4 separate regions of the Homo sapiens genome follow, and regions 1, 3 and 4 are each linked to region 2. The links are contacts of gene promoters, found by promoter capture Hi-C in human tissues and cell types (Jung and others, 2019). All regions are on one chromosome and are shown on one strand. The core of a region is centred on a gene start or on the middle of the fragment in contact, and the rest is flanking DNA. Distances in the headings are between cores, read along the strand shown.

The links. The method cuts DNA at HindIII sites, captures the fragments that hold promoters and counts their contacts. A contact is called where the count stands out against the background at its distance.
Region 1: a fragment that was not itself captured here is called in contact with the fragment with the promoter of FAM186A in region 2 in 1 of the 25 tissues and cell types used here (mesenchymal stem cells).
Region 3: a contact is called between a fragment that was not itself captured here and the fragment with the promoter of FAM186A in region 2, in 1 of the 25 tissues and cell types used here (hippocampus).
Region 4: a fragment that was not itself captured here is called in contact with the fragment with the promoter of FAM186A in region 2 in 1 of the 25 tissues and cell types used here (bladder).

Annotation. Positions count from the first base shown.
Region 1 is chr12:50,334,417-50,337,198 of GRCh38, reverse strand. All of the region lies in intron 4 of FAM186A (family with sequence similarity 186 member A), which reads left to right. Among named protein-coding and RNA genes, the nearest start is that of LIMA1, 52 kb to the right of the region's middle. The HindIII fragment of the contact is 5,482 bases long and covers 1-2,782 here.
Region 2 is chr12:50,395,349-50,398,306 of GRCh38, reverse strand. It overlaps FAM186A (family with sequence similarity 186 member A), which reads left to right and starts at 1,698. Exons shown (of 8, transcript NM_001145475.3): 1 at 1,698-2,014. The coding sequence starts at 1,823. The HindIII fragment of the contact is 8,551 bases long and covers 1-2,958 here.
Region 3 is chr12:50,440,002-50,442,983 of GRCh38, reverse strand. LARP4 (La ribonucleoprotein 4) reads right to left here. Exons shown (of 16, transcript NM_052879.5): 7 at 2,435-2,545; 8 at 1,341-1,394. Among named protein-coding and RNA genes, the nearest start is that of SNORD133, 15 kb to the left of the region's middle. The HindIII fragment of the contact is 6,893 bases long and covers 1-2,982 here.
Region 4 is chr12:50,350,903-50,353,893 of GRCh38, reverse strand. FAM186A (family with sequence similarity 186 member A) reads left to right here. Exons shown (of 8, transcript NM_001145475.3): 4 at 1-2,991. Among named protein-coding and RNA genes, the nearest start is that of FAM186A, 44 kb to the left of the region's middle. The HindIII fragment of the contact is 3,491 bases long and covers 1-2,991 here.

The sequences.
Region 1 (2,782 bases), core at 270-2,769, 61 kb after region 2:
ATGATAAGGAAATCTCAAAAGCCTGTGTAATTAGACAGAAAAATGTCAGGAAATATTTGGTGTGAAGAGGCTTATTGGAAAATTAAAAAATCTAATATGTTTAAATATTAAATACAAATATAATAATTTAAGTATTAAATGATCCATATATATAGTAGGTTCTAAAGTATTCATTATAACCCACAAAAGAAACCTAAGAGCTAAGAATTATTCTTTCTCTCTTCTCTCTCAATATAGATAGAGATGGATAAATAAAATCTCAGGTAAATCTCACTGATTCACCTGAGGCAATATATATATATACGCATGTATATAAAATACATATATTTAGAAAAATGTCTTTGATGGGTCCCCATCATCTACCAAAAAAAAAAATAAGAGAAGATCCAAACTCCTTAACATACCTTTGAAAGCCTTTCATCTTTCACTATCCAACCATTCCAGTCTCATCCCCCACTATATCCTTTCACATATCTGTGGTCAAAAACCCCAGACTACTCATCACTCTCAAAATATAACTTTCGTTTTCTTACCTTTGTTTATGGGATTTCTCCACCTGGACTTCCTCATCCCCTTCTTCCCTGTTCTGTCCGTAAGCACAATGGTTTTCAAACTTTAGTAAAGTAAGAGTTACCTGAGATTTTAAAATGCAGATTCCTGAAGCCTACCACTAAGATTTTGATTCAAAAGGTATGGAGAAGGACCTTGGAACCTGCATTTTCAACAAGCACCCCACCCGTCTACCCCATATGGTTCAGTCTAGGTGATCAGAGTCCGCACCTTGAGAAATATTGGCATTGTGGAAGAAAGAAGTTCTGGGCTTGCTTCCCAAATCTACCATTTATCAATTATGGGACATTAGAAAAAACACTTAACTTTGCTGAGATTTCTTTTCCTCTTCTGTAGAATGAGGATGGCAAAACTCTGTTTAGGACCACCAAAATGTGGTGGAATACATTATAGGAGGGCAGTAGGGAGAGAGAGAGAAAGGGAGAATCTTTTTATGACTGTCCCTCAAAATTCTGCTTGACACCTTCCTATAAAGCCTTCTTTATTACTCTTTTTTTTTTTTTTGAGATGGAGTCTCACTCTGTCACCCAGGCTGGAGTGCAATGGTGTGGTCTCGGCTCACTGCAACCTCCACCTCCCAGGTTCAAGTGATTCTCCTGCCTCAGCCTCCTGAGTAGCTGGGACTATAGGCGCCCGCCATCACACCGGGCTAATTTTTGTATTTTTTAGTAGAGTCAGGGTTTCACCATGTTGGTCAGTCTGGTCTGGAGCCCCTGACCTCGTGATCTGCCCACCTCGGCCTCCCAAAGTGCTGGGATTACAGGCATGAGCCACTGCGCCCGGCCTTATTACCCTTACTGGAATTAACTATGCTTTCCTTTTTGCTCCTGCAGCCTATTTAGTTAGCATTTATTTCATTCTATTTCTTTTTTTTTACAAGTAACGTAGTGTCCTATTCTGGATTATAAGTGCTTTTGAAGGCAAGGACACTGTCTTTTCCATAATTGTATTAAGTACTTTCTATGTGTCATTTTTTTTTTTTTGAGATAGGATCTCACACTCTGTTGCCCAGGCTGGAGTGCAGTGGCACGATCTCGGCTCACTGCAACCTCTGTTGCTCGGGTTCAAGTGATTCTTCTGCCTCAGCCTCCCAAGTAGCTGGGATTACAGTCACCTGCCACCGCACCTGGCTAATTTTTGTGTTTTTAGAGGAGATGGGGTTTCACCATGTTGGCCAGGCTGCTCTTGAACTCTTGACCTTGTGATCCACCAGCCTTGGCTTCCCAAAGTGCTTGGATTACAGGCGTGAGACACTGTGCCCGGCCTTACCTTCTATGTGTCTTACACATATCTATACATATGAAAAAAATGATCTATCTTATCCCCTAAGGTAATTTTTATTACAAATAGCCACATTTAACTAATTTTTTAAGAGTTGGAGTCTTGCCCTTAACAAAAAGGTGAATGTAATGGCGTGATCATAACTCACTGCAGCCTCGAACTCCCTAGGCTCAAGCAAGCCTCTCACCTCAGCCTCCTGAGTGGCTGTGTCTACAGGTATGTGCCACCATGCCCAGCTATTTTTATTTTGCAGAGACGGAGTCTTACTATATTGCCCAAGCTGGTCACAGACTCCTGGCCTCAAGCGATCCTCCCACCTCAGCCTCCCAAAGTGCTGGGATTACAGGCATGAGCCACTTCACCTGGCATAATTTTTAAAATATATTAAAATAATTGTAAGCAACACTATTTTAACACTGGAAATTTTGTGAAGACTTAATGAAAATTTTGATAATCATATAGATTTTTGAAGGTTCATTCATAGGAACTGGATTAAAGTCTTATTAAGCAAGCTTCCCATCCTTCTCTACTTACTGGGGATGATGAGAGAATTGAAAGAAACTGAGGACAGGTTGGGCATAGTGGCTCACTCCTGTAATCCCAACATTTTGGGAGGCTGTGGCAGGAGGATCGCTTGAGGTCAAGAGTTCAAGACCAGCCTGGACAACATGGCAAAACCCCATCTCTACTAAAAATACAAAAATTAGCTGGGCGTGGTGGTGCACACCTGTATTCCCAGCTACTTGGGAGGCTGAGGCATGAGAATCGCTTGAACCCATGAGGCAGAGGTTGCAGTGAGTCAAGATCACACCACTGCACTCCAGCCTGGGCAACAGAGTGAGACTCTGTCTCAAAAAAATAAAATTAAATTAAAAAGAGGCCATGCTCAGTGGCTCAGGACTGTAATCCCAGCACTTTGGGAGGACAAGGA
Region 2 (2,958 bases), core at 449-2,948:
CAGGTGTAGGCCGAGTGCAGTGGCTCACACCTGTAATCTCAGCACTTTGGGAGGCCAAGGCATGCAGATCACGAGGTCAGGAGATCGAGACCATCCTGGCTAACATGGTGAAACCCCGTCTCTACTAAAAAATACAAAAAACTAGCCGGGTGTGGTGGCGGGCGCCTGTAGTCCCAGCTACTCGGGAGGCTGAGGCAGGAGAATGGAGCAAACCTGGGAGGCGGAGCTTGCAGTGAGCCGAGATCATGCCACTGCACTCCAGCCTGGGCCACAGGCGAGATTCCGTCTCAAAAAAAAAAAAAAAAAAAATTAGCCAGGTGTGGTGGCGCATGCCTGTAATCCCAGCTACTCGGGAGGCTGAGGTAGAAGAATCGTTTGAACCTGGGAGGCAGAGGTTACAGTCTGCTGAGATGGCACTACTACACTCCAGCCTGGACAACAGAGTGAGACTCTGCCTCAAAAAAAAAAAAAGAAAGAAAGAAAGGAAGGAAGGAAGGAAGGAAGGAAGGAAGGAAGGAAGGAAGGAAGGAAGGAGAAAGAAAGAAAGAAAGAAAAAACAATACATACACCTGTAGTAAAACTATGTAAAAATAGATAACACAAATATGTAAAATTCATGATTGTCATTTCCTCTGGAATGGGACAGTGGGGAAGGAAGGAACCAGGGGTGGGGGACATCAAAGAGGACTTCAACCTTCTGTAATGCTTTTTTATTATTAAAAAAATTGGAAGCAAATATTAAACAAAAATTAGCCAGGCGTGGTGGCGCGCACCTGTAATTCCAGCTACTCAGGGAGGCTGAGGCACAAGAATCTCTTGAACCTGGGAGGCAGAGGTTGCCATGAACCAAGATCACACCACTGCACTCCAGCCTGGGTAACAAAGTGAGACTCTGTCTCCAAAAAAAAGGGAAAGAAAAGAAAAGAAAAGAAAAAAGAGTAAGCAGTGCAAAGAGTGTGATCCTCATCCAAATGATATCATCCAAGTTACTTCATCCAAATGATATCATCCAAGTTACTACATGTCTAGGAAAAGTTAAGGGGCAGCTGAGGAAGTAGTTGTAACCTTTATTCCATTACAGGCTTAAAAATACTTAAGCAAAACCCCAGGAAGAGAGAAGAACCAGGAGTTATATTTGACACACCTAGATTTTTTTTTTTTTTTTTTTGAGACAGTTTCACTCTTGTTGCCCAGGCTGGAGTGCAATGACGTGATCTCGGCTCACCACAACCTCCGCCTCCCGGGTTCAAGTGATTCTCCTGCCTCAGCCTCCCAAGTAGCTGGGACTACACGCATGTGCCACCTCACATGGCTAATTTTGTATTTTTTTTTTTTTAGTAGAGACGGGGTTTCTCCATGTTGGTCAGGCTGGTCTCGAACTCCGACCTCTGGTGATCCACCTGCCTCGGCCTCCCAAAGTGCTGGGATTACAGGCATGAGCCACTGCACCCGGCCAACACATCTAGATTTTAAGCTTATTTAAGCAGGGCTATATCTTCTGTTTATTTTAGCATTCCTGTTGTCTATTATTTCCTACCCTCCTTCCCCCCTCACCCTTCTACCATGGCAGCATATAGAATGACCAGTTCTCTGCACATAGTAAGCATTCTTTACATGTTTGATCAATGATAATGTCACAATGGGTCTATTGTGACATCAACAGGACGGGAATATCATGGGAGCCACCAATTAGTAGCAGAGTATGCCACAACTTCTAGGATCAGGAAAGACCTCTCCTAGCTTCCTACTGGATATCTTTATTAGCATTTTTGTAGATTCTGTGAAAAAGAAGAAATAAAACGAAATCACCCACATTTTCAAAATGTTCTTCAAAATGAAAAATGAGATAGACAATGACCCTGAATCAGAAAAATGCATCAAGGATTCCACCATCATGAGAAGAGAGCCCCAAAATATCCTTAGTCCTTTGATGCTCCCTAACCTTGAGATCCCATTCTCAGTAAAGGATATCATCTCTAGGATTGAGCGCGCACAGCTCCATCGAGCCAGAGAGGTAGGTAGTGAATCTGAAGTTTACAGACTGCAATTTTCTTTTTAAACTTTCTGTGACCAAGTACATTTTTGTTTATTTTAGAAATCACTTTCATGATATTTGACTGTATTTAGGGTAGCTTTGACTTCAAATGACAATTTCACCTGACACCGACTGTGGATATAACAAGCTCCAATTTGACATTAATCTCTTTATATCAGGTTTAATAAAGCCATTTAAGAAATAAATCAAGCCGGGCATGGTGGCTCACGCCTGTAATCCCAGCACTTTGGGAGGCCGAGGCGGGCGGATCACTGAGGTCGGGAGTTCAAGACCAGCCTGACCAACATGGAGAAACCACCGTTTCTACTAAAAATACAAAAAGTTAGCTGGGCATGATTGCACTTGCCTGTAATCCCAGCTACTCAGGAGGCTGAGGTAGGAGAATTGCTTGAACCAGGGAGGTGGAGGTTGTGGTGAGCCAAGATTGCACCATTGCACTCCAGCCTGGGCAACAAAAGCGAAACTCTATCTCAAAAAAAAAAAAAGTTTTCATTTGTTCCCTATGGAGGTTTTATCAAACAGCTATTAGCCAGATAGAATTTAGATGGCTTTGAATTCTAGCTCCTTTTATTTTCCCTGTACACTTCAAGGAGAAATTAGGAGAAATTCAAGGAGAATAGAAAGAGTGTTTACATAATGTCAGCCGGGTGCGGTGGCTTATGCCTGTAATCCCAACACTTTGGGAAGCTGAGATGGGAGGATCCCTTGAGGCCAGGAGTTAGAGACCAGCCTGGTCAACATAGTGAGACCCCATCTATATTTTTAGAAAAATAAATAAATAAATAAATACATAAGAATCTAATAGACCCCCAAACAATTAAGGTTATACTGCATTTTATTCTCTCGCAGTACAACAAAATCAGGCCAGGCACAGCGATTCATGCCTGTAATCCCAATGCTTT
Region 3 (2,982 bases), core at 71-2,570, 45 kb before region 2:
GGGAAAGATAAAAGGGAGAAGAACATCATAGACAGAGGAAGTAGAATGACAGCTAGAAAACAGCCTCATCTGTAATATGGAAACTAATAATCCCACCTACTTCACAGCAATTATGAGATTTAAATATGGTAAGTTCTTAGAACCTCTTAATAAATGTAAGTCACTGTTATCCTAGTTCTTCCACTTACTAGTTATGTGAAACTAGGTAGGTTACCCTCGTGTCTTATTATCCTCACTAGGAAACTGAAGAAAACAAAAGCACTATCTCATTAGGTTCCTGTAAGGATTAAATGAGTCAATACATGTAAAGTGCTTAAAACAGAAAGTGACACACAGAGTTCAACACAGAGGGATTAGTAAGAATAATGTATTACATTTACAAATAAGAATAACTATAGCACACAGGGAATGAGGATCAAGTCGAACTAAGTGTATGTTACTGGATTATGGTTTAGAACACTAGCTCTGGTAGCAATGTGAAGAACAGATTGTTAAGGGGGGGAAAAACTGGTAACACAGCAGTTAAGAGGCTACTCCAAGTGTTCAAGCCTAAACAATGGGAGATTTTTGGAAAGCATTTTCACAGGACCTGAGAACAGATTAGACATGTAAAGACAGGGATCAAATGTGTCATCAGTGACAATGCCTAGGTTTCCAAATGGTTGTATTGATGGTACGTAGTGATGCAGTTAATTGAGATGAGGTTGAAAGTACTGTGAATATTTTTCATCTGTTACTAAAAATTATTTCTATTGCTCATTTTGAGATCTGGAATTATCTCATATGTTGTAAATCAGCATCTAATTAAACCTCATGCTATTTGAAGTTACCCCTTTGTAAAGAATTGCTGTACACAAAGTATTTTTATGGCTTATCAAAGGATTTTCTGAAGTAGCACATAATACAAGCCAGAAAATTTGTTGTTGTTGTTTTTGAGACAAGGTCTTGCTCTGTCCCCCAGGCTGGAGTGCAGTGATGCAATCTCTGCTCACTGCAACCTACGCCTCCCGGGTTAAAGCAGTTCTCCTGCCTCAGCCTCTCAAGTATCTGGAACTACAGGCGTGTGCCACAACACCCGGCTAATTTTTTCTATTTTTAGTAGAGATGGGGTTTCATCATATTGGCAAGGCTGGTCTCGAACTCCTGGCGTCATGCTATCCACCTGCCTTGGACTCCCAAAGTGCTGGGATCACAGGTGTGAGCCACCACGCCTGGACCAAGCCAGAAACTTTTTGAAAGTCACTATGGGTTTTTATAAAATATTATCTGTCTGTATTTTTTAAATTCTCATACAGAGAACCAAAACCTGTTCTGGTTTCACACTGATCTCTATTTCTTACCATAATTGGCTTGCCCTGAAATGTTTTAACTTCTTCTCTTAAGTATTTAAAAGCCTGTTAACAAAGCACAAAAAAAACTTTCATTAGCATTCAAACATTTCAGTAAAGTTATCTTTATTATGTTGAGAGTTTAGTATTAAACTATAAAAACAAAATTATGTAGGTGATTCCACTGTGCAGGTGGACAGGGAATGAAAAAGTAAAAATGTAACGCCTTCTCAATCACAGTTCATATTTATTGTAGAAAAGCCACCATGGATTACTGCAGACAAAATGCATTAGGATTGAAAACAGACCCAAAATATCCCTAGAAACCAATTTAAAAATGATCAACTTTCTAATAAATTGTTTTAAAAAATAAAAATCTGTGAGTGATTTTTAAACACCCTTATCATAGATATATTTGTGTTTCAAAGGATTATTTCTCTTTAAGACATGTTAACAATTAAGAATAAAACCATCACCGGGTGCAGTGGCTCATGCCTGTAATCCCAGCACTTCGGAAGGCTGAGGCAGGCGAATCACGAGGTCAGGAGTTTGAGACCGGCCTGACCAATATGGTGAAACCCCACCTCTACTAAAAATACAAAAAATTAGCTGGGTGTAGTGGCGGGTGCCTGTAATTCCAGCTACTTGGGAGGCTGAGGCAGGAGAATCACTTGAACCCAGGAGGTGGAGGTTGCAGTGAGCCGAGATTGCGCCACTGCACTCCAGCCCGGGCGACAGAGTGAGACTCCGTCTCAAAAAAAAAAAAAAGAATAAAACCATCAAGTCAAAATTCCAAGAATTTTGTTTATTGCAGACCTATTATGTACTAAAAATACCACTAGGTACATGGTTCTCGATCCCTATGTTAATTTTAAAACTGTTATGTTAATATTCTTATCGACAGAAAACAAACTTCCTAAATCAAAACTGAAAAACTTTAGGAAGATGATCAAAAAGGAAACCAATTGAGCAAAAGCAAAAGGGTGACCAAGGTACTCACTAGTCTTGATAAACATCAGTGTAAACACACATTTTCTCAATTAAAATATACCACTACTTATTTTGCCACTAGGATGGACTTGTATCAGAAAATGTTTTCTTCTTACCTGTTGTGCATCTGTGTCTGACTGGAAAGTGATATACCAGTTGCTATTGTGTGCAAACTCACAGCTTATCACTTTGGGGCAGTTTTCACTTTTGAACAAACCTTTCACTTCCTAAAAAGAAAAAGAAAATTAGTTAACTCTAAAAAATACATCAATAATTGGCATTTTTTGTTGGTTTGTTTACTAGTAATGTTAAGCCTATCTTCATGTCTTTGGTCCTATCACTTCACTTAACTTTTGCCCATTTTTCCACTGAGGATGGGCTGTTTCAAAACAAATACAGAGTTAATAGGAGATATATTTGAGTCTGGTCTCAAACTCCCGGATGCAAGCGATCCTTCCGCCTGAGCACTCCAAAGTGCTGAGATTACAGGCACGAGCCACTCCACTTGGCCAGGAGATGTATTTTGTACATGATTTTGGGATGATTTATTTTACAATAAGCAAAGCGTAAGTATTTCACTTCCAGTGGCAAGCTAAATGCTTAGTGAAATCTCCCCTGTCCTTTTCCTGCCTGGCCTCCCACAGGACAAGTGATATCTTTCATT
Region 4 (2,991 bases), core at 72-2,571, 44 kb after region 2:
GGCAGATCAAAACAAAGGATCAGATGCAGATGAAGGAAACACAACCTAAAGAGCTAGAAAAAATGGTCATCCAAACTCCAATGACATTATCTCCCAGGTGGAAGAGTGTATTGAAAGATGTACAGCGGTCATATGAAGGAAAAGAGTTTCAGAGGAATCTGAAGACATTAGAGAACCTTCCTGATGAAAAGGAGCCCATATCAATCACACCTCCCCCCTCCCTACAATACTCCCTGCCTGGAGCTCTTCCTATTTCTGGCCAGCCTCTCACTAAATGCATTCATCTCACACCTCAGCAGGCCCAGGAAGTGGGGATCACACTCACTCCTCAGCAGGCCCAGGCTCAGGGGATCACGCTCACCCTTCAGCAGGCCCAGGAACTAGGGATCCCTCTCACCCCTCAGCAGGCCCAGGCCCTGGAGATCCTTTTCACCCCTCAGCAGGCGCAGGCCCTGGGGATCCCTCTCACCCCTCAGCAGACCCAGGTTCAAGGGATCACTCTCACCCCTCAGCAGGACCAGGCCCCGGGGATCTCTCTCACCACTCAGCAGGCTCAGAAACTAGGGATCCCTCTTACCCCTCAGCAGGCCCAGGCCCTGGGGATCCCTCTCACCCCTCAGCAGGCTCAGGAATTGGGGATCCCTCTCACCCCTCAGCAGGCCCAGGCCCTGAGGGTCTCTCTCACCCCTCAGCAGGCTCAGGAATTGGGGATCCCTCTCACCCCTCAGCAGGCCCAGGCCCTGGGGATCACTCTAACCCTTCAGCAGGCCCAGCAATTGGGGATCCCTCTCACCCCTCAGCAGGCGCAGGCTCTCGGAATCACTCTCACCCCTAAGCAGGTTCAGGAACTGGGGATCCCTCTTACTCCTCAGCAGGCCCAGGCCCTGGGGATCACTCTCACCCCTAAGCAGGCTCAGGAATTGGGGATCCCTCTCAACCCTCAGCAGGCCCAGACCCTGGGGATCCCTCTCACCCCTAAGCAGGCACAGGCTCTGGGGATCCCTTTCACCCCTCAGCAGGCGCAGGCCCTGGGGATCCCTCTCACCCCTCAGCAGGCGCAGACTCAGGAGATCACTCTCACCCCTCAGCAGGCCCAGGCCTTGGGGATGCCTCTCACCACTCAGCAGGCTCAGGAACTGGGGATCCCTCTCACCCCTCAGCACGCTCAGGCCTTGGGGATGCCTCTCACCACTCAGCAGGCTCAGGAACTGGGGATCCCTCTCACCCCTCAGCAGGCTCAGGCCTTGGGGATGCCTCTCACCACTCAGCAGGCTCAGGAACTGGGGATCCCTCTCACCCCTCAGCAGGCTCAGGAATTGGGGATCCCTTTCACCCCTCAGCAGGCACAGGCTCAGGAGATCACTCTCACCCCTCAGCAGGCCCAGGCCCTGGGGATGCCTCTCACCGCTCAGCAGGCTCAGGAGCTGGGGATCACTCTCACCCCTCAGCAGGCTCAGGAATTGGGGATCCCTCTCACCCCTCAGCAGGCCCAGGCCCTGGGGATCCCTCTCATCCCTCCGCAGGCTCAGGAATTGGGGATCCCTCTCACCCCTCAGCAGGCCCAGGCCCTGGGGATCCTTCTCATCCCTCCGCAGGCTCAGGAATTGGGGATCCCTCTCACCCCTCAGCAGGCCCAGGCCCTGGGGATCCCTCTGATCCCTCCGCAGGCTCAGGAATTGGGGATCCCTCTCACCCCTCAGCAGGTCCAGGCCCTGGGGATCCCTCTCATCCCTCCGCAGGCTCAGGAATTGGAGATCCCTCTCACCCCTCAGCAGGCCCAGGCCCTGGGGATCCCTCTCACCCCTCAGCAGGCGCAGGAACTGGGGATCCCTCTCACCCCTCAGCAGGCGCAGGAACTGGGGATCCCTCTCACCCCTCAGCAGGCGCAGGCTCAGGGGATCCCTCTCACCCCTCAGCAGGCCCAGGCTCTGGGGATCTCTCTCACCCCTCAGCAGGCGCAGGCTCAGGGGATCACTCTCACCCCTCAGCAGGCCCAGGCACTGGGAGTCCCCATCACCCCAGTAAATGCCTGGGTGTCAGCTGTCACTCTTACCTCTGAGCAAACCCACGCTTTGGAGTCCCCTATGAACTTAGAACAGGCTCAAGAACAGTTATTGAAGTTAGGGGTTCCTCTCACCTTAGATAAAGCCCATACCTTGGGATCGCCCCTCACCCTTAAGCAAGTCCAGTGGTCCCATAGACCATTTCAGAAATCGAAGGCTTCTCTCCCCACTGGGCAATCCATCATATCAAGATTGTCTCCAAGTCTTAGGCTGTCCCTGGCATCATCAGCTCCTACTGCTGAGAAGTCCTCTATATTCGGGGTCTCTTCTACTCCTTTGCAGATATCAAGGGTTCCCCTCAACCAAGGCCCCTTTGCCCCTGGGAAGCCCCTAGAAATGGGGATTCTTTCTGAGCCTGGGAAGCTTGGGGCACCACAGACTCTTCGTTCCTCTGGACAGACCCTGGTATACGGAGGTCAATCCACTTCTGCGCAGTTCCCGGCACCACAGGCCCCTCCCTCCCCTGGGCAGCTCCCAATATCTCGGGCCCCTCCCACTCCAGGGCAGCCCTTTATAGCTGGAGTTCCACCCACTTCTGGACAGATTCCAAGTCTCTGGGCTCCTCTTTCTCCTGGGCAGCCCTTAGTTCCTGAAGCCTCTTCCATCCCTGGGGACCTCCTGGAATCTGGACCCTTAACCTTCTCTGAGCAGCTCCAGGAATTCCAGCCTCCTGCCACTGCTGAGCAATCTCCCTATCTGCAGGCTCCTTCTACCCCTGGGCAGCATCTGGCAACATGGACCCTTCCTGGGCGAGCTTCTTCATTATGGATCCCTCCCACCTCTAGACATCCTCCCACACTATGGCCGTCCCCAGCCCCTGGAAAGCCCCAGAAAAGTTGGTCCCCTTCTGTTGCTAAGAAAAGATTGGCAATTATTTCTTCTCTGAAATCTAAATCAGTATTGATCCATCCTAGTGCTCCAGATTTCA